Linked DNA regions of Homo sapiens: regions 1, 2, 3, 4, 5 and 7 are each linked to region 6. Evidence: promoter capture Hi-C in 16 types of primary human blood cells and fetal thymus (Javierre and others, 2016). All regions are on one chromosome and are shown on one strand. The core of a region is centred on a gene start or on the middle of the fragment in contact, and the rest is flanking DNA. Distances in the headings are between cores, read along the strand shown. Region 1 overlaps LOC105372091 (a long non-coding RNA gene). Region 2 overlaps LOC105372091 (a long non-coding RNA gene). Region 3 overlaps LOC105372091 (a long non-coding RNA gene). Region 4 has its middle 210 kb from the start of MIR4319. Region 5 overlaps LOC105372091 (a long non-coding RNA gene). Region 6 holds the start of SETBP1-DT (SETBP1 divergent transcript). Region 7 overlaps LOC101927961 (a long non-coding RNA gene).

The links. Contacts are between HindIII fragments. The CHiCAGO score rates a contact against its expected background, and 5 or more counts as called.
Region 1: a fragment that was not itself captured here is called in contact with the fragment with the promoter of SETBP1-DT in region 6 in 1 of 17 cell types (total B cells); the score reaches 5.1 in total B cells.
Region 2: a contact is called between a fragment that was not itself captured here and the fragment with the promoter of SETBP1-DT in region 6, in 2 of 17 cell types (total B cells and naive B cells). The highest score is 9.8, in total B cells.
Region 3: a fragment that was not itself captured here is called in contact with the fragment with the promoter of SETBP1-DT in region 6 in 2 of 17 cell types (naive B cells and total B cells); the score reaches 6.0 in naive B cells.
Region 4: a fragment that was not itself captured here is called in contact with the fragment with the promoter of SETBP1-DT in region 6 in 4 of 17 cell types (total B cells, naive B cells, monocytes and 1 more); the score reaches 10.3 in total B cells.
Region 5: a fragment that was not itself captured here is called in contact with the fragment with the promoter of SETBP1-DT in region 6 in 1 of 17 cell types (naive B cells); the score reaches 5.8 in naive B cells.
Region 7: a fragment that was not itself captured here is called in contact with the fragment with the promoter of SETBP1-DT in region 6 in 2 of 17 cell types (naive B cells and monocytes); the score reaches 6.9 in naive B cells.

What each region holds. Positions count from the first base shown.
Region 1 is chr18:45,079,522-45,082,221 of GRCh38, reverse strand. The region is part of intron 3 of LOC105372091 (a long non-coding RNA gene); the gene reads left to right. Among named protein-coding and RNA genes, the nearest start is that of MIR4319, 110 kb to the right of the region's middle. The HindIII fragment of the contact is 4,823 bases long and covers 1-2,700 here.
Region 2 is chr18:45,099,763-45,102,462 of GRCh38, reverse strand. The region is part of intron 3 of LOC105372091 (a long non-coding RNA gene); the gene reads left to right. Among named protein-coding and RNA genes, the nearest start is that of MIR4319, 130 kb to the right of the region's middle. The HindIII fragment of the contact is 3,343 bases long and covers 1-2,700 here.
Region 3 is chr18:45,138,942-45,141,641 of GRCh38, reverse strand. The region is part of intron 2 of LOC105372091 (a long non-coding RNA gene); the gene reads left to right. Among named protein-coding and RNA genes, the nearest start is that of MIR4319, 170 kb to the right of the region's middle. The HindIII fragment of the contact is 6,545 bases long and covers 1-2,700 here.
Region 4 is chr18:45,181,692-45,184,391 of GRCh38, reverse strand. It overlaps a transcript of SLC14A2 not described here. Among named protein-coding and RNA genes, the nearest start is that of MIR4319, 210 kb to the right of the region's middle. The HindIII fragment of the contact is 831 bases long and covers 954-1,784 here.
Region 5 is chr18:45,120,567-45,123,266 of GRCh38, reverse strand. All of the region lies in intron 2 of LOC105372091 (a long non-coding RNA gene), which reads left to right. Among named protein-coding and RNA genes, the nearest start is that of MIR4319, 150 kb to the right of the region's middle. The HindIII fragment of the contact is 522 bases long and covers 1,055-1,576 here.
Region 6 is chr18:44,678,505-44,681,204 of GRCh38, reverse strand. SETBP1-DT (SETBP1 divergent transcript) reads left to right here and starts at 1,333. Exons shown (of 2, transcript NR_187430.2): 1 at 1,333-1,589; 2 at 2,316-2,700. It overlaps SETBP1 (SET binding protein 1), which reads right to left and starts at 317. Exons shown (of 6, transcript NM_015559.3): 1 at 184-317. RefSeq lists silencers at 443-492, 633-882, 1,553-2,192. The HindIII fragment of the contact is 7,071 bases long and covers 518-2,700 here.
Region 7 is chr18:45,161,866-45,164,565 of GRCh38, reverse strand. The region is part of intron 4 of LOC101927961 (a long non-coding RNA gene); the gene reads left to right. Among named protein-coding and RNA genes, the nearest start is that of MIR4319, 190 kb to the right of the region's middle. The HindIII fragment of the contact is 9,955 bases long and covers 1-2,700 here.

The DNA of each region.
Region 1 (2,700 bases), core at 44-2,543, 400 kb before region 6:
CCGCCTCAGCCTCCCAAGGTGCTAGGATTACAGGCGTGAGCCACCATGTCCGCTCCTGTGCATAAACCTTAACCACATATTTGCTTGTATTTTCATCCCCCACCCCACCCACTTCCCTGCATTTTTGGCACATGCCAGGGAATGCCTCACCTTTGCAAAGGTTCTCAAGCTCAGTGAGACAGAACAGTCACACCACACGTGAAGCAAAACAAATTTTTCACTCACAGATAAGAACAAATAGAAGCCTAGGATCCCTGGGGAGCCAGACTCCAGGCTCTGGCAAGTTGCCCCAGGCGAATGGAGTTCTGTCTGCACATGCTGTATGTTTCACTGCAGCTGAGGGCCCCAGAAAGCACTCTGCTCTTGGGTTTTATACCCCGGGTGTCTCTTGGTTTGCTGAGCCCAAGTGTTGCAGAGCATCCTGTTTTACGAGGGATGAGGGCAGAGACTGTGTTGCCCTGGACACTTCCTCTTTATTTCAGGATGTCACATTCTTAGAACGTTCTACAGTTATTCTGAGAAATAAGAGCTGGAGGAAGGAGAGCTGGATTGGCCAGGGCCATCTGTAGACCTGTCTGCCTACATTCTTTACTTTTTCAGGCAGTCCATATCTACTCTTTAAGGTCAAACTCAGTTCCTATCTACATCTAGATATATTATTTTTCTCTCCTTAACTCTGCCAATGTGGGTAGTCTGGCCCATTTATTTTGTGTGGCATATCTACAATTAAACTTGGAAAGACCCTTAACTTGTGATCAGAGATGGGCTCTAGGCCGTCTTAACATCTACCAGCATGTAGCACATGGTCAAGCCTTGAGAATATGCTTAATAGTCAAATCCTCATGTCATTTAAAATGACATAAGAGAAGTTAGGAACCATAGAAAGGATGGAAAGAGAAGGTTCAAATAAAAGTGGGTGAGGGAAACAGAGCCAAGAAATCCTAGAAAGCAAACCAACATTTTTCACACCACAGGGAAACGACAGAAGATGGAGTGCTGCAAAATTAGAAAAACTATCTTGGACACTGTCTCTTTCTAAAAGTTTAGGAAAACTAATTTCAAATAAAAATTAGAAACAGAAAAGTATCAACTTCTAAATCCTATAAAAGTTATTAAAAGGAAAAGACAAAGGGCTAATATCCAGAATCTACAATGAACTCAAACAAATTTACAAGAAAAAAACAAACAACCCCATCAAAAAGTGGGCGAAGGACATGAACAGACACTTCTCAAAAGAAGACATTTATGCAGCCAAAAAACACATGAAGAAATGCTCATCATCACTGGCCATCAGAGAAATGCAAATCAAAACCACTATGAGATATCATCTCACACCAGTTAGAATGGCAATCATTAAAAAGTCAGGAAACAACAGGTGCTGGAGAGGATGTGGAGAAATAGGAACACTTTTACACTGTTGGTGGGACTGTAAACTAGTTCAACCATTGTGGAAGTCAGTGTGGCGATTCCTCAGGGATCTAGAACTAGAAATACCATTTGACCCAGCCATCCCATTAATGGGTATATACCCAAATGAGTATAAATCATGCTGCTATAAAGACACATGCACACGTATGTTTATTGCGGCACTATTCACAATAGCAAAGACTTGGAACCAACCCAAATGTCCAACAATGATAGACTGGATTAAGAAAATGTGGCACATATACACCATGGAATACTATGCAGCCATAAAAAATGATGAGTTCATGTCCTTTGTAGGGACATGGATGAAATTGGAAACCATCATTCTCAGTAAACTATCGCAAGAACAAAAAACCAAACACCGCATATTCTCACTCATAGGTGGGAATTGAACAATGAGATCACATGGACACAGGAAGGGGAATATCACACTCTGGGGACTGTGGTGGGGTCGGGGGAGGGGGGAGGGATAGCATTGGGAGATATACCTAATGCTAGATGACACGTTAGTGGGTGCAGCGCACCAGCATGGCACATGTATACATATGTAACTAACCTGCACAATGTGCACATGTACCCTAAAACTTAGAGTATAATAAAAAAAAAAATTAAAAATAAAAAAAAAAAAGAAAAGAGAAAAAGAGACAGAATTAAAAACATATCAATAACTTATGCCCACAAATCAAAATTCTAATTCACTGTTTCAAAATGAGGCAAAAGATATATGAAAATAATAAGAGACATGAAATAATAGCATAATTTATAATTAGGAAAACTCAGAAATAAAGTGACAGAAGACAGGAGAAATTGAAAATGCAGTTGGCCCTTGAACAACATCGGGGTTGGGGTGCCGAGAGCCTCACGGTCAAAAATCTGTGTATAACTTTTGACTCCCCCTTCAACTTAACTAGTAATAGCCTACTGTTGACTGGAAGCCTTACCAATAATATAAACAATTAACACGTATTTTGTATGTCATACGTATTATATACTGTATTCTTATGATAAAGTTAGAGAAAAAATATTACTAAGAAAATTGTAGGGAAGAAAAAATCTATTTACTATTCACTGAGTGGAAGTGAATCATCATAAAGTCCTTTATCTTCATCATCTTCACGTTGAGGATCCTAAGGAGTAGGGCTGTGAGAGATAACTTTTTACTGCGATATGCAATTTACTGGAGCGATGAACTGTTCATACGGTGATGATTAGTGTCATACGACATTTTAAGTGGATACTTGCAAAACTTGGGCTCACTACAATAGCAATAGGAGG
Region 2 (2,700 bases), core at 1-2,500, 420 kb before region 6:
TTCCAAGCTACCTGTGAGGGAGAAGGACCAATATTTTTCCCCTCATTCATTACAGACCAGTGCATGGTCCTATTACGTATGTTTCTATGCAGATTGCTTTATGTACCACTTACCACATGACTTTGACAATGTTCAAACCCATTTATTCCCTTTTCCTGGGCTAAAGTCCACTGGTTTTACACTTGGACGTAGAGAAAATGTCACATTGCTACAGAAGTTTCTAACTCTTACTTTTTACTCTGAATTTCTGTTGTGTACAACAAGAAATGAATGTGTACAATGTAGTTTAACAAAAAAGGAAGGACCTCACGTGAAAAAAAAGAAAACAGTTCCCAGAAAGGCACTGCCATACATCCTCCTGCACTTTTGACTTTGAATATATGATCTTTCCGGAGGAATTTGCTTTATAAAAAAATTGCCAGGGAAACACCCTTAGCAGAAGTGAGGACAGACTTGAGGATCTTCAATTCCCTTGGATGCTCTCTTGCAGCATCAGCTATCAGCAAAAGTGTGAGACTGTTCAAGTCTGTCTGTGGCTCTTTCACCACCTTCTGTAGTAAACAAGATGCTCCATCCAGTCCTTTCACCTCCTTTCTGGAGGAATCTTATGGTTCCTTCCTCTGTACTCTCTGACACTTAATGTGGAGGCCAACTCACTCTTATGTAGGTATACAGTCCTAATACAAAAATACACTATTTCCCTTTCATGTAAACAGAGAAATTGAAAATATAGTTTTCCAGACTGAAGGAAACAAAGCCTCAGGATTGGATATCAGATTTGAGTATTTTCAGTTGGCCACAACTTACAGCTGGTCAGCTCTCAGGAAGAGTGCATGAAAAATCCTGGGAGTGGGGTCAGGAGACAGGGGTTCTGTAGAACGTTCATGGTAGGTGTGGCAAGAAGTTCACAGGAAGGAGACACTAAAATTGGAGATTAAGGTAAATGAGGCTGGCCATTTCAGGTTCGTGTAATTCATTCAAGTAGTGATTAGAACTAAACTGTGCTAAGTCATCTTAAAGATCCGAATAGTCACCAGTTCAAACGTAACCAGGCTGAATATTTTAACAGGTCTAAAGAGGGAGAACATGTCTATCAGAAGCACAACACTGTGGAGTTCCAGGGTCATCTAAGCCATGACCAAGGGAGATGTGTCCAGACCTGAGGACAGAACCTACCAGGTCCTGGTGGCACAGCTGTTCCTGCTGCAGAGATAGTAGTATCAACCTTGAACTACTGCTCACCAGCACAGAGCTCATCCACCCTGTTCTCACGACATATGGATTAAGCAATCTGTTAATACAGGTTGCACCACCATGTGTCTTTGCCTACGGGAGAGAATGTGTTGGCTCTTCTGTTATATGTCTCATTATAAATTACTAAGCTGGCTCTGTAGTTTATATTCCAGGCTCTTATAAACCTAGATAATGTGAATCTATTCTGGCCATACAGATCTACTTTTGGTCAAGAGGAAAATGAAAGTGAATGAGCATATGAGGCTAAAGAACTGACCATGGGCAGGGGTTATTCCAACATGGCAAAACTACGTGAGGCCTTGTGGCAGTCGGGTGGCTAAAGACTGGGAAGCTGGCCTCACAATGCCTCTCTCTCAAAGTCCTCATGTACTTTTGGTAAAAGCAGAAGCTCTAGACATAATCTTGAGGCTTCTGTACTGGTTTTGATTTGGCATGGCTCAACAATGAATAATTGCAGTATGTCTGACATGCAGTTATACAGTTATAATAGTTGTAATTAATGACCAGGTTAAAAAGGCCCCATGTCAAAATGGCCAAGATAAAAAGCCATATACTTTGTAAAACCTGCTTTAAATTTAAAAAAGTTGAGATAATCCATGTATATGTTTCAAATTTTAACATGTATTTTTAAAGTACTGTGAGAAGTCTCCCACTCTTGCCTTATTTGCCAAGTTTCCACAGTAATCCCTGTGATTAATTTACTGTCCATTCGTGTAAATAGTTTGGCATACTCAATCCAATAAAATATATGTTTTTATATATTTCTTTTTTTACACAAAGTCCCATGCCCTGTGCTGTCTTTTGCATATCGTGATGATCTTTTGTTAGTATATCTTGGGTGATTTTTCCATAGCAATACAAAAACAAAGTTTCTTTCAGGAAGTCATATCATTCTTGTAGTAAACGAGGTAAGAACACAGGATTTGGCATCGGACAAACACAGCTTCAACAGTTACTATTTAAGTGCCTTAAGTGGGTTTTTTAACTCTAGTAAATTTTAAATTTCTAAATCTACAGAACGAGGAGAAAAATACCCTGTTTACAAGGTTTTTATTAGGTCTGAATATATAGGTGGAACCCTTCCCATGTTGTCATGCACAGGGTCATAGGAAAGAAGAGGAAGGAAGCAAGAAGGTGGAAGAAGGAAGAGGATTTCATAGTAGCCTTATTTTCAGGTTCCTGCAAATCAACCAACTGGGCACTGGATAGATGAGTTTCCTCCAGTGAACTTCGGTGTCCTCATTTTTTGTTGTTATTGTTGTTGTTTGTTTGTTTGTTTTTTGAGACAGAGTCTCGCTCTGTCACCCAGGCTGGAGTACAGTGGCACAATCTCGGTTCACTGCAACCTCTGCCTCCTAGGTTCAAGGAATTCTCCTGCCTCAGCCTCCTGAGTAGCTGGGATTATAGGCACGTACCACCACGCCCGGCGAATTTTTTGTATTTTTA
Region 3 (2,700 bases), core at 94-2,593, 460 kb before region 6:
TAGACTAAAGGCTTTAGTAGAAAAGGCAGGGATGTATGAACATATAGAAAAATTTTAGAGAACAGAAATAAAGATGGAAATTACATGATCGAATCAAATGAATATGCCAAAAATAAAAGAGAAACAAAATATACAAAAATGTCTTTGATGAACTCATAAAAAGAGTAACAGAGAATAGAAAAACAATCAGTGAACTTGAAGGTAGGTCAACAAAAAGTACCCAAACTAAAACAGAAAGAAATAAGAATAGAAAAAGGAAGCAAGCAAAAAAAACAAAAAACAAACAAAACAAAACAAAACAAAAAAAAAACAAGCAAGCAAGAAAAAGAAAAGAAAAGAAAAGAAAAGAAACAGAAGCATATCCAAGAACTGTGGGACAATGTCAAACAGTCTACTGTATTTACAATTGAAATTTCAAAAAAAAATAGGAAGAGAAAGGAGAAAAAAATGTGAAAGTTATAATGACCAAAAATTTTTCAAAATTAATGAAAACATCCAACTCACAACTGCAAGAAGTACAGAGAACATCAATCAAGATATTTATCTATATCCCCCAAAATACACCTAAACAAATCATATTTGGACTGTTGAAAATCAAAGATAAAGAGAAAACTCTAGAAGGAGCTGGGGGAAAGTTGGTGGGAGATACATTACATATACTGAAAGAGAGATAAGAATTACAGAAGACTACTCATCAGAAAGTATGCAAGCTGCAAGAGAATGGAGAATAATTTCAAACTGCTAAATTTTTAAGACATCAATAGAGAGTTCTCTACCAAGTGAAAATATCTTTTAAAAATAAAACTAAAATAAAGCTAAAATAAATTTCTTATACAAGCAAAAATTGATAAAATTCACTACCACCAACACTGCAAGAAATGTTAAAAGAAGTTTTTTTGGCAGATGGAATATAATACCAGAGAATAAACTGAATATACAAAAAGAAATAAAAAGCAATGGAAATGACATAGGGTAAGTATAAAATTTATTTTATTCTAATTTTTATTACTGTGGATATAATTTTCTAAGGCAAAATAGTAACAATGTATTTTGTGTTTATTGCATGTAGTAACAGCATAATGTATAATAACTATAGCATAAAAGACAGATGGAAAAAAGTGGGAGTATGGTGTCATAATGTGCTTACACTACACATGAAATGGCATACTATCATTTGAAGGCAGTCTGTGACTAATTAAAGTTGTGTACTATAAATCCTGGGGCAACTACTGAAAAGAAAATTTTAAAAGAGATATAAATAATGAGCCAATAGTAAAGATAAAATGGTATACAACAGAAACATAAACAAATGAAACAGCATAGAGAACCCAGAAATTAATCTATTATGTACAGCCAACTCATTTTTGACAAAGGCACCAAGAACATACATTGGGGAAAGAGTAATCTCTTCAGTAAATGGTGCTGGAAAACTGGATATTCATGTACAGAAGAATAAAACTAGACCCCCCACTTCTCATCCTACAAAAAATCAACTCAAAATGAATCAAAGACTTTAGTAAGACCTGAAACTGTAAAACTACTAGAAGAAAACATATAGAAAGCACTTTGGGGCATTGGTCTGAGAAAATATTTTATGAATAAGGCCTCAAAAGCACAGGCAACAAAAGCAAAAGTGAACAAATGGATTATATGAATCTAAAAAGCGTCTACATAGCAAAGGAAGCAATCAATACAGTTAAAAGACAACCTACAAAATGGGGGAAATATTTGCAAAGTATACATCTGACAGGGAATTAATATCTAGAATATACAAGGAACTCAAGTATCTCAACAGCAAAAAAAAAAAAAAAAAGGGCAAATGATCTGAATGGACATTCCTCAGAAGGAGATATACAAATGGCCAACAAATATATTTTTAAAATGCTTAGTGTCACTAATCATCAGGGAAATGCAAATCGAAACCACAGTGAGGTGTCATCTCACCCCAGTTGGCCCGGCTATCATCAAAAAGACAAGAAAGAACAGATGCTCGTGAGGTGTGGAGAAAAGTGAACTCTTACACACTGTTGATAGAAACGTAAACTAGTACAGCCACTATGAAGAACCATATGGATGTTCCTCAAAAAACTGCAAATAGAACTACCATATAATTCAGATACTGAGCATTTATCTAAAGAAAAGGAAATCAGTATCTTGAAGAGACCTCTGCGCAGACCCGCATGTTTATCACAGCACTATTCACAATAGCCAAGATATGGAATCAACTAGGTGTCCAACAACAGATGATTGAATAAAGAAAATATGGTATACACAATGGGATACTATTCAGCCATAAAAAAGTGAAATCTTTTAATTCAAAGCAACATGGATGGGACTGGAGGACATCATGTTAAGTGAAATAAGCCAGGAACAGAAAGTTGAACATCACATATTCTCACTCATATGTGGAAGCAAAAAAAATTTGACCTTTCATCAGTAAAAAGTAGAACAGAAGATATTAGAGGTTGAAAACGGTGGGGGAAACGGGAATAAAGAGATACTTGCTAAAGGATTCAAAATTACAACATAATAAGGGGAATAAGTTCTAGTGTTGTATAGCACTGTAGAATGCCTATAGTTAACCATAATATATAGTTTCAAAGAGCTAGAAGGAGGATATCCAGGGCTGGGTATGGTAGCTCGCACTTGCAATCCTAGCACTTTGGGAGGTTGAGGTGGGAGAATTGCTTGAGCCCCTGA
Region 4 (2,700 bases), core at 120-2,619, 500 kb before region 6:
TAGGAATCAAGCTATGTTTCAGAGCAAGAGTATTTTGACTGCATTTGCCACCAAAGAGTGGCATTAGTGGTCACCTGTGGTAATTTTAGTTAACTTACTACATGTATTTGCTTTTTTCATTGCTAAATTTGAGTTTTCTAACATCATTAACCCTATTATATCAGATAAACACAATAGCAGTGTGACTATAGTAAGATAATGACAGAAACAAAAGTAGAGATCATTTTTAAGCAGTTTTAAAAAATAGAACATTACTAATGATTGCAAGCACTCAGAAACTTGTAAATATTGCACACATGTGTAGAATGAATAGTTCCACAGTCAGAAATGACCCTGATGGCTGGGCATGGTGGCTCATGCCTGTAATCTCAGCACTTTGGGAGCCCGAGATTGGAGGATTGCTTGAGGGCAGGAGTTTGAGACTAGCCTGGGCAACATATGAGACTCCATGTCTCACAAAAAAAAAAAAAAAAAAAAAAAAAAAATTAGAAAATTAGCCAGGTGAGGTGGTGCTGCCTACAGTTCCAGCTTGTTGGGAGGCTGAGAGGTGGATAGCTTGGCCCAGGAGTTGGATGCTGCAGTGAGCTATGATCACACCACTGCACTCCATCCAGCCTGAGCCACAGAGCAAGGCCCTGTCTTGAAAGAAAGAAAAGAAAGAAAGAGAGAAAGAAAAGAAAGAGAGAAGGAGAGACAGAGAGAAAGAGAGAAAGAAAGAAAGACAGAAAAAAAGAAAAAGAAAGAAAAGGAAAAGAAAGGAAAGAAAAGGCTCAGATGGACAAAAGCAAATTGTGCAACCTAGGAAAGTGTCAGACTCCTCTGCAATAAACAATAATCTACACTAACAAAGCTAATGGGAAATATTTTGGATGTGGGCTAAAGAAACATGATCAACATCAGTGGCTTGTTTGGTAAATGTTCTGAGAGGATAGGAGTTTGAGAAAATAAAAGCTTTATATGGTGCGAGTAGGCTGCTGATCCATCCCACTTCAAGGCTCATTCAAATCAGCACATCAAAGTGTGCAGCAAGATAAAAGGTGAGGTTAACTGCTGAGGGTCTCCAAGCACATACAGAGATGTTCAAGGAGGGAGCGGCCTACCCCAAGAGGTGTTATCAGCCTTCACGGAACTGACATGGTTTCCTAAAGGATAAGCCATTGCAGGAGGATCAGCAAGAAGCTGAAGGGTGTGCCTGGGTTTAAAGCACTGAAAGACGACCTCTCAATCTGGTTCAGTGGGAATGCACTGGGGGAAGCCAGCGCAAACAGTACCCTCATCATCACTTGGGCTTATGAACAGATGGACCCAGGAACTACATTTCCAAATCTAACTGTTCATAATTCTAATCTATACCAGTCTCTGTTTTTGGCCATTTATACTGTTCTAGTCACCAATCTGTCAAGTCTAGCACCAATACGGTACTGTTTTAATTATTCCCTCATGATTTTTATTTAAAAAAAATTTCTTGGCAATCTGTAGCCTTTATTCTTCCAGATAAATTCTAGAATCACTTCAGATTGAATTAACCTATAAATTACAATCAGAAGAACTGTCATATTTATATGAATTTTCCTATGTACAAATGTAGCATATTTCTCATGTATTAAGTCATATTTCATGCTTTTCAGACAACTGTGTGATTTTTCTTAATGAAACTATAGCACATTTTATACTCTTCTACTTTATATATTTTTTGTTGTTGCTTTATATATTTTTGTATTTATTTTTTAAAAGGACTTGTTTTTTATAATAGTTTCTGTTTCTTTGTGAAACATAGGAAAGCTTCTGATGTCTATGTATCTTTTCTGTATTATAAAATACTCTCGTTGGCCTTAGGAGTTTTAAAGTCAATTTTTTTACTAATTACTTTTTATATTTTTCTATGCTCTGGTAAAACATGAGAATTATTTATCTTTTCAAAGTTTGAAATAACACATTTTTCAAATCAGTTACAGTCTTTAACAATTTTTTTCAGTTATTTTTTCCTTTTAAATCAATGTTGAAAGGTCTTTTTCAAGAAAACGATCCATTTCTTTGAATTTATCACTATAGCATTTTATACAGTATTGTGTTACTTTAAAAGTACTGTGTCTCTTATCCTATCTTTTTTTCCTGATTCAATTTTCCTAAGGTCATTTATTGTGATTATTTTTTCTAACGTACCAAATATTATTTTTAAAAGTCTGTTTATCTAATTTTCCTATTTCATAATTCATTGATTTTTATTTTATACATACTATTTTACTCTCTTTATTTTTTAGATTAGTGTGGTAATCCTCTGAAACTTACTTGGCTGCTTAATTACTTTCATTTCTTATTGCTTAATAAACAAAAACATATAATGGTGTGAATTTGCCAATGATTCTCTTTTGGCCATAAATCATATATTTTGATAAATACTCTCTCGTTTTAGGAACTTTTTAACCAGTTTGTAATTGTACTTTTGATTTCCTCTTAACCCAAGTTTTTAAAGAGAAATGGCACAGGTTAAAAAATAAACTCTTGTTTAATACATATTAATGGAAACTCATTATTATATTCAAATTATCTTAATCTACTTAATAAAGAGTCGCACAGATATATTAAAGTAAACTGTTTTTCTGTAAATTTCTTTTTATATTTCTTATGAGTTTCAAATACATTTTGATGTTATTAATTGGTACATAAATCTGTTTCAGAAGACATCATTTATCAATTACA
Region 5 (2,700 bases), core at 66-2,565, 440 kb before region 6:
GGTCATTTCTCATATTCAAATGAGCAGGAAAGGCTATTGATTGGAAGAACAATTGCAAATGAGGGAAAAGAAAAGTTGCCTGCGTCACAATGGGTATTCTAAATAAAATCCCTTATCCTAGTAGACTTACCAGAATCTGAATCATTTGATAGAGCTGATCACTCTCATCATCCTTCTGACCTTTAAGTGTCAGAGAGTCCCAGGGCTTAGTTTTTGGTCATCTTCCTCATCTATTTTATCTGGTGAATTTATTCAGTCTCAGGGCTGAAATACTAGCTATATGCTGGTGATGGCCAAATTTATATCTCTACCTTTGACCTTTTTCTGATACCCAGATGCATGGCTATAATGTCCTTCTCCACACCCCTACTTGGAGATCTGAAAGGTAACTCAAGCTTTACATGTTTGAAACAGGACTCTTGATTTGAAGCCTTACACCAAAGCCCTCATGCTCTCACTCTATTTCCTATAACACAAATGGCATCTTCATTCTACCAGCTACTTGCTCAAAGAAAAAACTTTAAGTCTCCTTAATATGAGTCATCTTTAACATCTGTCTCTCTCTGATGCCACACATATAATTCATCAGCACTGTTTGTCAGCTCAACCTTGGAAATGCATTTAGATTCCAGAACATGTCTCCCCATTTCCATTGCTGTGCCCTTAATCTGAAGCCATCCATTCTCTCCCAAGTTATTTAAATTGTCTCCCAACTGGTCGCTCTGCTTCCAGCCTTGCCTTCACAGTGTTCTCCACAGTACAGCAGAGTGAGCCTTGTAAAACCTAGTCAGATCGTGGCACTCTTCCACTCAAAACCCTGCAATGGTTTCCATCTCACTCAGAATAAAAGCCCAAACACCTACCTTCCTGTAAGATGCTATAATACTTGTCCCTGCCACTGCCCTGATCTCATTTCCCCCCTTTCCTTATTGTGCTCTCCACACACTTTGTGCTCTTAGTTGTCCCTCAAACATACAAAGTATGTCTAAAATAGCACCTTTCCTATTCCTCACTATATATCCTTTTCCTACTCCATTTTCAGATTTCTTAAGCTTAGCTCACGTATTATCTATTTATTATCTGTCACTACTGGAATATTGGAATATAAGTCCTATGAAAGCCAGGATTATCTATTTTGTGTGCAGCTATATCCCCAGTGCAACAGTCCTTCATGCTCAACAGATATCTGTTGAACAATGAAGTAAATATGTAAATGATGAATAAATGCACATGTACTCACAAGTAAACATGCAAATAAATAAGCCTCCTGTCATGCTCATCTATGGAATCTCCACATTTGCCCAAGTAGAGTTCTGAAGGTTGCCGCACCAGAGCCTTAATTCTGCTGACATATAAATAACTACACAGATTTTTGTTTCTTTTTTCCAGAAAAGAGTGCAAGAGTTAGCACATTTCCCATCACCACTCCCTGCGTACCTTCTTATAACTTACTACCTGTGACTTTTCCACTTGGAATCATTACATGGAAAGGGTCATTAGAGACTATCTAGTTCAAATAATCATTTCAGAAGCAAGGAAACTGAGGCTCAAGTTCGTGAAATGACTTGCTCAAGCTTACAGAGCTGGTTAAGAGCAGAACTATAATTTGATTTCAGGTCTCTAAATTTTTATGCCTTTTTTTTTTTTAAATCACCACAAGGATAAGGAATCAGTCTCTTTCTCTCTCTTTCCCCTTCTTTTTCTCTATCTCTCTCATATGTTGTCCTTGCTACCACTGTTGGTGATCAAAATTCAATAACAACAGTCTTTAAAGAGAGAGCCAGATTTGCAAGTGCTTTTGGAGCTCAATGATGACTTTCTCTGAGTGGGAGAGGCTGGTTATAGGGTCCCCCTCACTTTCACAGAACAGAAGAGGCAGGGACTCATCTGTGGGCATTGGCAGGGCTGGTGCTTACTGACAATCCCTGAGAATGGAAATATCCTGCTTGTCCTTTTAACAGGATTTCAGCCAGAGATTTGAGGGAAAAGTACCGCAGTCTAGTGGGCTGTGAATATGAGTGGAAATGTCAGAGCTATGAATCAGTTAACACATTTTTATTTAGCATCTTCCTGTGAAAGAGGATGAAAAGACATGGCTCCTGTGCTCAAATTCCTTATCACTTCAGGGTACAGTCCAGAATAGTACAAGATCTGGTTAGATCTTAGAGGTCCTAGCACTTCAGACATAAGAGGCATGACTTGGGTGGTAAGAATGGGGGTGGTTTGGGCTGGTGTGGTGGCTCATGCCTATAATCCCAGCACTTTGAGAGGCCGAGTTGGGTGGGTCACCTGAGGTCAGGAGTTCAAAACCAGCCTGGCCAACGTGGTGAAACCCCATCTCTACTAAAAATACAAAAAATTATCTGGGCATGGTGGTGTGGGCCTGTAAACCCAGCTACTAGGGGGCTGGGCTGGAGGATTGCTTGAACCTGGGAGGTAGAGGTTGCAGTGAGCCGAGATCGTGCCATTGAACTCCAGCCTGGGCAACAGAGCAAGACTCCATCTCAAAAAAAAAAAAAAAAAAAAAAAAAAAAAAAAAAAAAAAAAAAAAGAAAGAAAGAATGAGGGTAGTTTTCATGGAAAACACAAAAACACAATGCTTAATCTTGTCATGGAATGGCTGTGATTTAAGTAGGTGAAGCGTATTGTGGTGCATTACTTGCTCCTGTTCTCTCTGGACTCAAGCAGTACATTCATATA
Region 6 (2,700 bases), core at 84-2,583:
CCCACGGCTCCTCTAGAAACGCACACAATGCGTGCTTTCAAAAAGGCATTCGTCTGCTTTTAAGGGAATTCCTATCTTTTCAGAGTCCCAAAACCAGAGAGCACAAGAAAGAGACTCAAATCCATTGATTAAGATTTTTAAGAAAAAGACTAACACACAGGCACAACACAAGCACACACCAACCTTCGCCGGCTGGACCACTTCTTGCCTGTTCTTCTTTCTATTAACGACACGTTAGATTCTGATACATTCCCCCCCCAAAAAAATCCAACTAGGTTACAATGTAGCTCTCTAGCTCCACTTAACCTGCAAGTTACAAAGAGAGAAAAAAAAAATCCTGCCTTCCCACCCCTTTCCTTACCCCCTCCCCCTCCCGAGTCCACTCCACCAACGCCAAACCCGCCAGCCCCGCCAGCCGGCTGCAGGACCGAGGGAGGGTGCAAAAGGCGGGGGGCGGAGGGGGGGTAGATCAGATTAGGCGAAACTCAATAAGCTCCCAGCCCTCCAGCCCAAAGCTTCCACCATCGCCGCCACCAACGAGCCACTCCAATTGAGCCAGCATCGCCGCCCACCCGCCGGCCCGCCGGAATCGCGCCCATCTCCTGCAACCTCGCCCGGACCGGCATCCCGCCCCCTCGGCCCGGTCTCCCCCTTCCCGCCGGGTGCAAAGTCAAAGACCCAGCAAGGCGACGTGAACTTTTGCATGCAGGGCACACACGTCGCCCCCGGTTCCGGGAGTGCGGGGGCCCGCGGCGCGGAGGGAGGCTGGGCGCCCGGGCTCCCGGGCCAAGGTCGCCGCGCGTGCTCACCCATGTCCCGGCGGCTCCGGCTCCGCTGGCCCCGGCGCTCGCTCAGATCCCGGCTCCCGTCGCTCGCCCGAGCCCCCAAAGGTGCTGCTGCGGCAACTCCATGGCGATGAGCATCTGTCAAACGGCGAGCCGCGAGCTGGCCGCCCTAGCTCGGGGGGCGCCGGGGCCCCCGGGCGCGCGGAGGCGGCGGCGAGCGGCGGGCGCCCCGGCCGGCCCCGCGCTTCCCGCCCGACTCTGCCGCCTCCGCCGCGCCACCGATTTATGGAGAGAGATATCAAGGGGGAAAATGGCGTCTCCGGAGCCCGAGGAGTCCTGGAGTAATCACATTCACACACACACGCCCGCACGCACACACACTCGCACACACTGGCACACAGGCGCGCGGCGAGCCCTGCTAATTTTAGCAGGAGCCAAAAAAAATTTTATATATATATATATATATATATATATATATATATCCCCGTCTCTCCGATCAATGCTTTTTCTTTTTTTGCTTTTTTTTTTTTTTTTTTTTTTTTTTTTGCTTTTCTTCAAAGGATGGGTTGGAGCGTTAAAAAATGTTGGTGGGTTTGGGCTCGCAGGAGGCGGCGCGCGGAGGGCGAGGGCGCTTTTGCTGAGCTGTGCAGTTCGGTCCGCTGAGCCCGGCGGCCCTGCCCGCCCGCTCGTCCGCCCGCGGTCGCTAGTGTTGCCGCCGCCGCCGCCGCCGCCGCCGCTGCTGCTCCATGGCCGCGCCCGCCCCGCGCCCCCGCCGCGTCCCGTCGCCGCCCGCCCGCGTCCCCGGTGAGCGCTGGAGTGGGGTCGGGCCCGTGTGCCTGCCTCCCGCGCCCTCTCCGAATCCCGGACTCCTAGTGAAAGGAAGGGGGAGGGCGCGGGCGCGGAAGGGAGGTGGATCGGAGCGGCAGCGCGGCCCAGCCGAACGGGTACCGACCGTCACCCCGCGATCTTCCTCGCAGGGGGCGCCGGCGCCCAAGCTGCTCGCCCGGAGGGCCCAGAGCCGCTTCCCAGACCAGAGCCGGGGGAGGCGCAGCCAGTAGCGAGCCCTGAGCGACCTCTCTCCCCACTCGCCCCCCTGCCCCAGTGAATTTCTGTCAGTTGAAGGGAGCGGGGCTCTTGCCCGGGGAAAAGGAAAACAGTTCGTGGCCTGGGATCTGGGACCCCTTGCCGCCCCCAGCGCCCCTCCCGCTCCCCGGCGCCCTTGCGGCCCAGTGGCTCCTGCGCGCCGGAGTCCGCCGCGAAGACTGAGCGGCCGCGGGGATCGCCGCGGGCTCCGCGCGTATTCCTGGGCTCAACACTGCCACTATCTGACACAACAGGAGCAGTGTCGGGGGGGTACTGCGCGCCCAGACGTGAGCTGTGATAGGCTCTCGAAACTGGGCGCATTTTTTTTTTAACCTGGTAATTATATTTCACTTTCAGGGTTTTTTTAAATTATTATTATTATTTTATTGTTGTTGTTAAGCGACTTGTATGCATTCAGATCTCATGTGCATTTTCTCGTTATTCAAGAGAATTGGACACTTGATGAAGGGAAGGACACGGAGAGATGACAAACGCAGACTGGCATGCAGTTGTTTTCAGGGTGGGAAGAACAAAGTGGAATGTCTTCAGTTCTTACAAAATATGGTGGCATTTGTAATCTCTGAGTTTTTGTATTTGGCCTACAAAGGGGGTCTTTTCAGGGAAACACGAATGGAACCCTTCAGAGACATGTCTACATTGTAAAACAATATAGGATAGATACGGATTCGGGAAGGTCTGCAAATGGTTCCGCTCAAAGAACTTGGGGTAAAGTTGACCGAGGACTCGGATTCTGAGAGGACTCCTATCACGTTCTTCATGAGAGTTTTAGGCTATTTGGACTGAGGAATGATTTGGAGGTACGTCGGGGGCA
Region 7 (2,700 bases), core at 124-2,623, 480 kb before region 6:
AGCTTTAGCATTCTGCCCTGCCTATATTCTCTCTGCTGAAATTTTTCTCTCCTCTTCACTGTGATGAAGTCAGGGACAGACTTCCTAATTGTCCTAATTTGGAACAGAGCTCAGGCCATAAAGCATCCTCCCTGAAGCCATTGATGGAGCAAGCATCTTCATCTCATCACATCCAATATTATGAGCTAAATAACAATAGAATCATAAGATTTCCTCAAGCCACATGTTAGTGTTAATAATGGCTTCCATAAATATATTTTGTTAAGACATTTCAGCATTTTCTAATTATTTTCACACATATTTCATTGCTTAAAGATACTAAACTAGTCAGGACCCATATTCTCATTTTGCAAATAAGAAAATGAAGTCTCAGAGAGGTGCACTATGTGTTTAAGTTCAAAACTGGTGTCAGAAACACAAGAATTATTGTCTTCTAAAACTTTGTTCATGATGCTTCTTGCCAGATGTGCTTATGGAAAACTATTGTGTGCAATGACTTCTGGCAAATCAAATCAGTTGGCCCAGGGGAAACAGGCTATTTAAAGGAGTCCCACTGTGAATCATTTTGTGAAGTAAATATTCTCTAATGCATCCATTTTACAAATCTGGATTTTCAAACAATGTGTATCTGCTGAAAGTGGGGTACCTGTGAGCCTCCACGTTTCAGACATTAAATCATCCTTCACGTTCCTCCTGATTAGAGGTGGCTGTAGGCTGGCTGAGTCTGTGACTTGTATAAACGGCAGCAGCAGAGGGGCAGATAGAGCCTCCGACAGACACTTGAGCAAGTCTAGTTCCTGGATTTGGCTTTTAAATCAGCTGCTTTCTATTATCTGCCAGTAAATGATTCCTCCCAGGTCTGAAGAGCTGAAGACCTTGGCCCAGGTCAGCACATAGCTTCTGTTCACTACCTCTTGGCTTGACCCTGTCTCACCTTCCTCTGTCTCCTGAACTCCTGGTGCCACCACTCCCAATTCCAATGGGGGATTTTGCTATAAATACGAACCCTTGATCATACTTTCCCCTTCTATGTTTTTGTCTAACCCTTTCCCCCAACCTTGTTTCTTCTGATCCCGCTAGTTGCAGGGTCCTCAGCTCAAATAGATTCTCAGCCCTGGATGTATATTAAACTAATCTGGGGAGCTTTCACAATTTTTCCAACACTGGGGCTCCATGATCAAAATTCCAACTTAATTGGTCTGTTATGGGGCTTGAATGCAATGTTTTCTGTTGTTTGATTTTTATGCTATGTAGGTGAATTGAACATACAACAAAATGGAAGACTTATGATATACTTGATGGCCTGACCTTGACCCTGACTCCTGATTATCAAATGATCCTTGCATTGGGTTGAATTGTGTCTCCCAAACTTCATATGCTGAAGGTCTAACCCCTTCAGAATGTGACCTTATTTGGAGATAAGGTCTTCACAGAGATCATCAAATTAAAATGAAGTCATTAGGGTAGGCCTTAATCTAGTATGACTGGCACTCTTAAAAACAGGGGAAATTTGGAGGCAGACCCATATGCAGTGAGAATGCCACGTGAACATGAAGAAAGCCATCTATAAGCCAAGGGGAGGAGCCTGCAACAGATCCCTCCCTCACAGCCCTCAGAAAGAACTAACTTTGCCTATACCTTGATTTTAGAGCTGTGGCCTCCAGAACTCTGAGACAACAATTTTCTGTTGTTTAAGCCAGCCAGTTTGTGATACTCTTTTACAGGAGCCCTAGCAAACAAACATTTCCCTTAAGACCTCATTGCAGTTGCCCTGATCCTGTAGCACAGCTGGAGTGACCAATTTGTTTCAGTTTGCCTAGGACATTCCTGGTTTTAGCAATGAACGTTCTAGGTAACAGGAACCTGTTTATTTCTAGAGAAACCAGGACAGTTGATTACCCTAAACAAAGCATAATGATTATGTGTGTAGGTTGCAGGACCTGACAATCTGGGTTTAAAATCCATCTCTGCTCATTCTTGGCTATGTTGCTTTCAGCCTCAGCTCCTATAGCTGCAAAACGACCTATCTTGTAGTGACATTGTGTGGATAACATGGACCAATGTGTGTAAAACTCACAGAATATTTCCTGGTACAGCATGAGTACTCAATAATATTTAGTAAGTTAATATTTTTATACAATTAAAATCAGAAAACAGTCATACAAATATATTTCCTTTTGTGATAGTAAGATAGTTAAATGGCCTTGCTTTAAGAGCTGAATGTAGTCAAAGTTACATGACTTCCATTCACTCATTCCAATCCTGGTTTTTCTTCATGTATGACTGTAGTATGGTCTTGGCATTTCTCAGTACTTCTGCTCTTTCTTACATGATGCATATTTACCACAAGGCTGGCTCTAGAAATCAAAACAAACAGAAAAAGGAATTGTCTTAACCATTTGGTATGTCTATTTCCCATCTCCTTGCAATACCATGAGGGAAACCACCCATGGGCAACAGGTAACAGGCATGACCTGGTCTGACAGTGAAACTTCTAACCCGTCAGAACCAAAAACGTTCACTCCGGAAAGAAGGCAGGCTTGCGAATGAGGAAGTGTCAGTTCTCTGAGGACAGATAGAGGTCAGGAAGAGAATTAATAGAGGGATGTTACTGAGGTAGAATTGGTCAGGAAGCAAAGGCATTGCTGGGCGGCTATGGAGGGTTGGGGTTAGTTCAGACAGAGGGAGCCGCACCAGTAA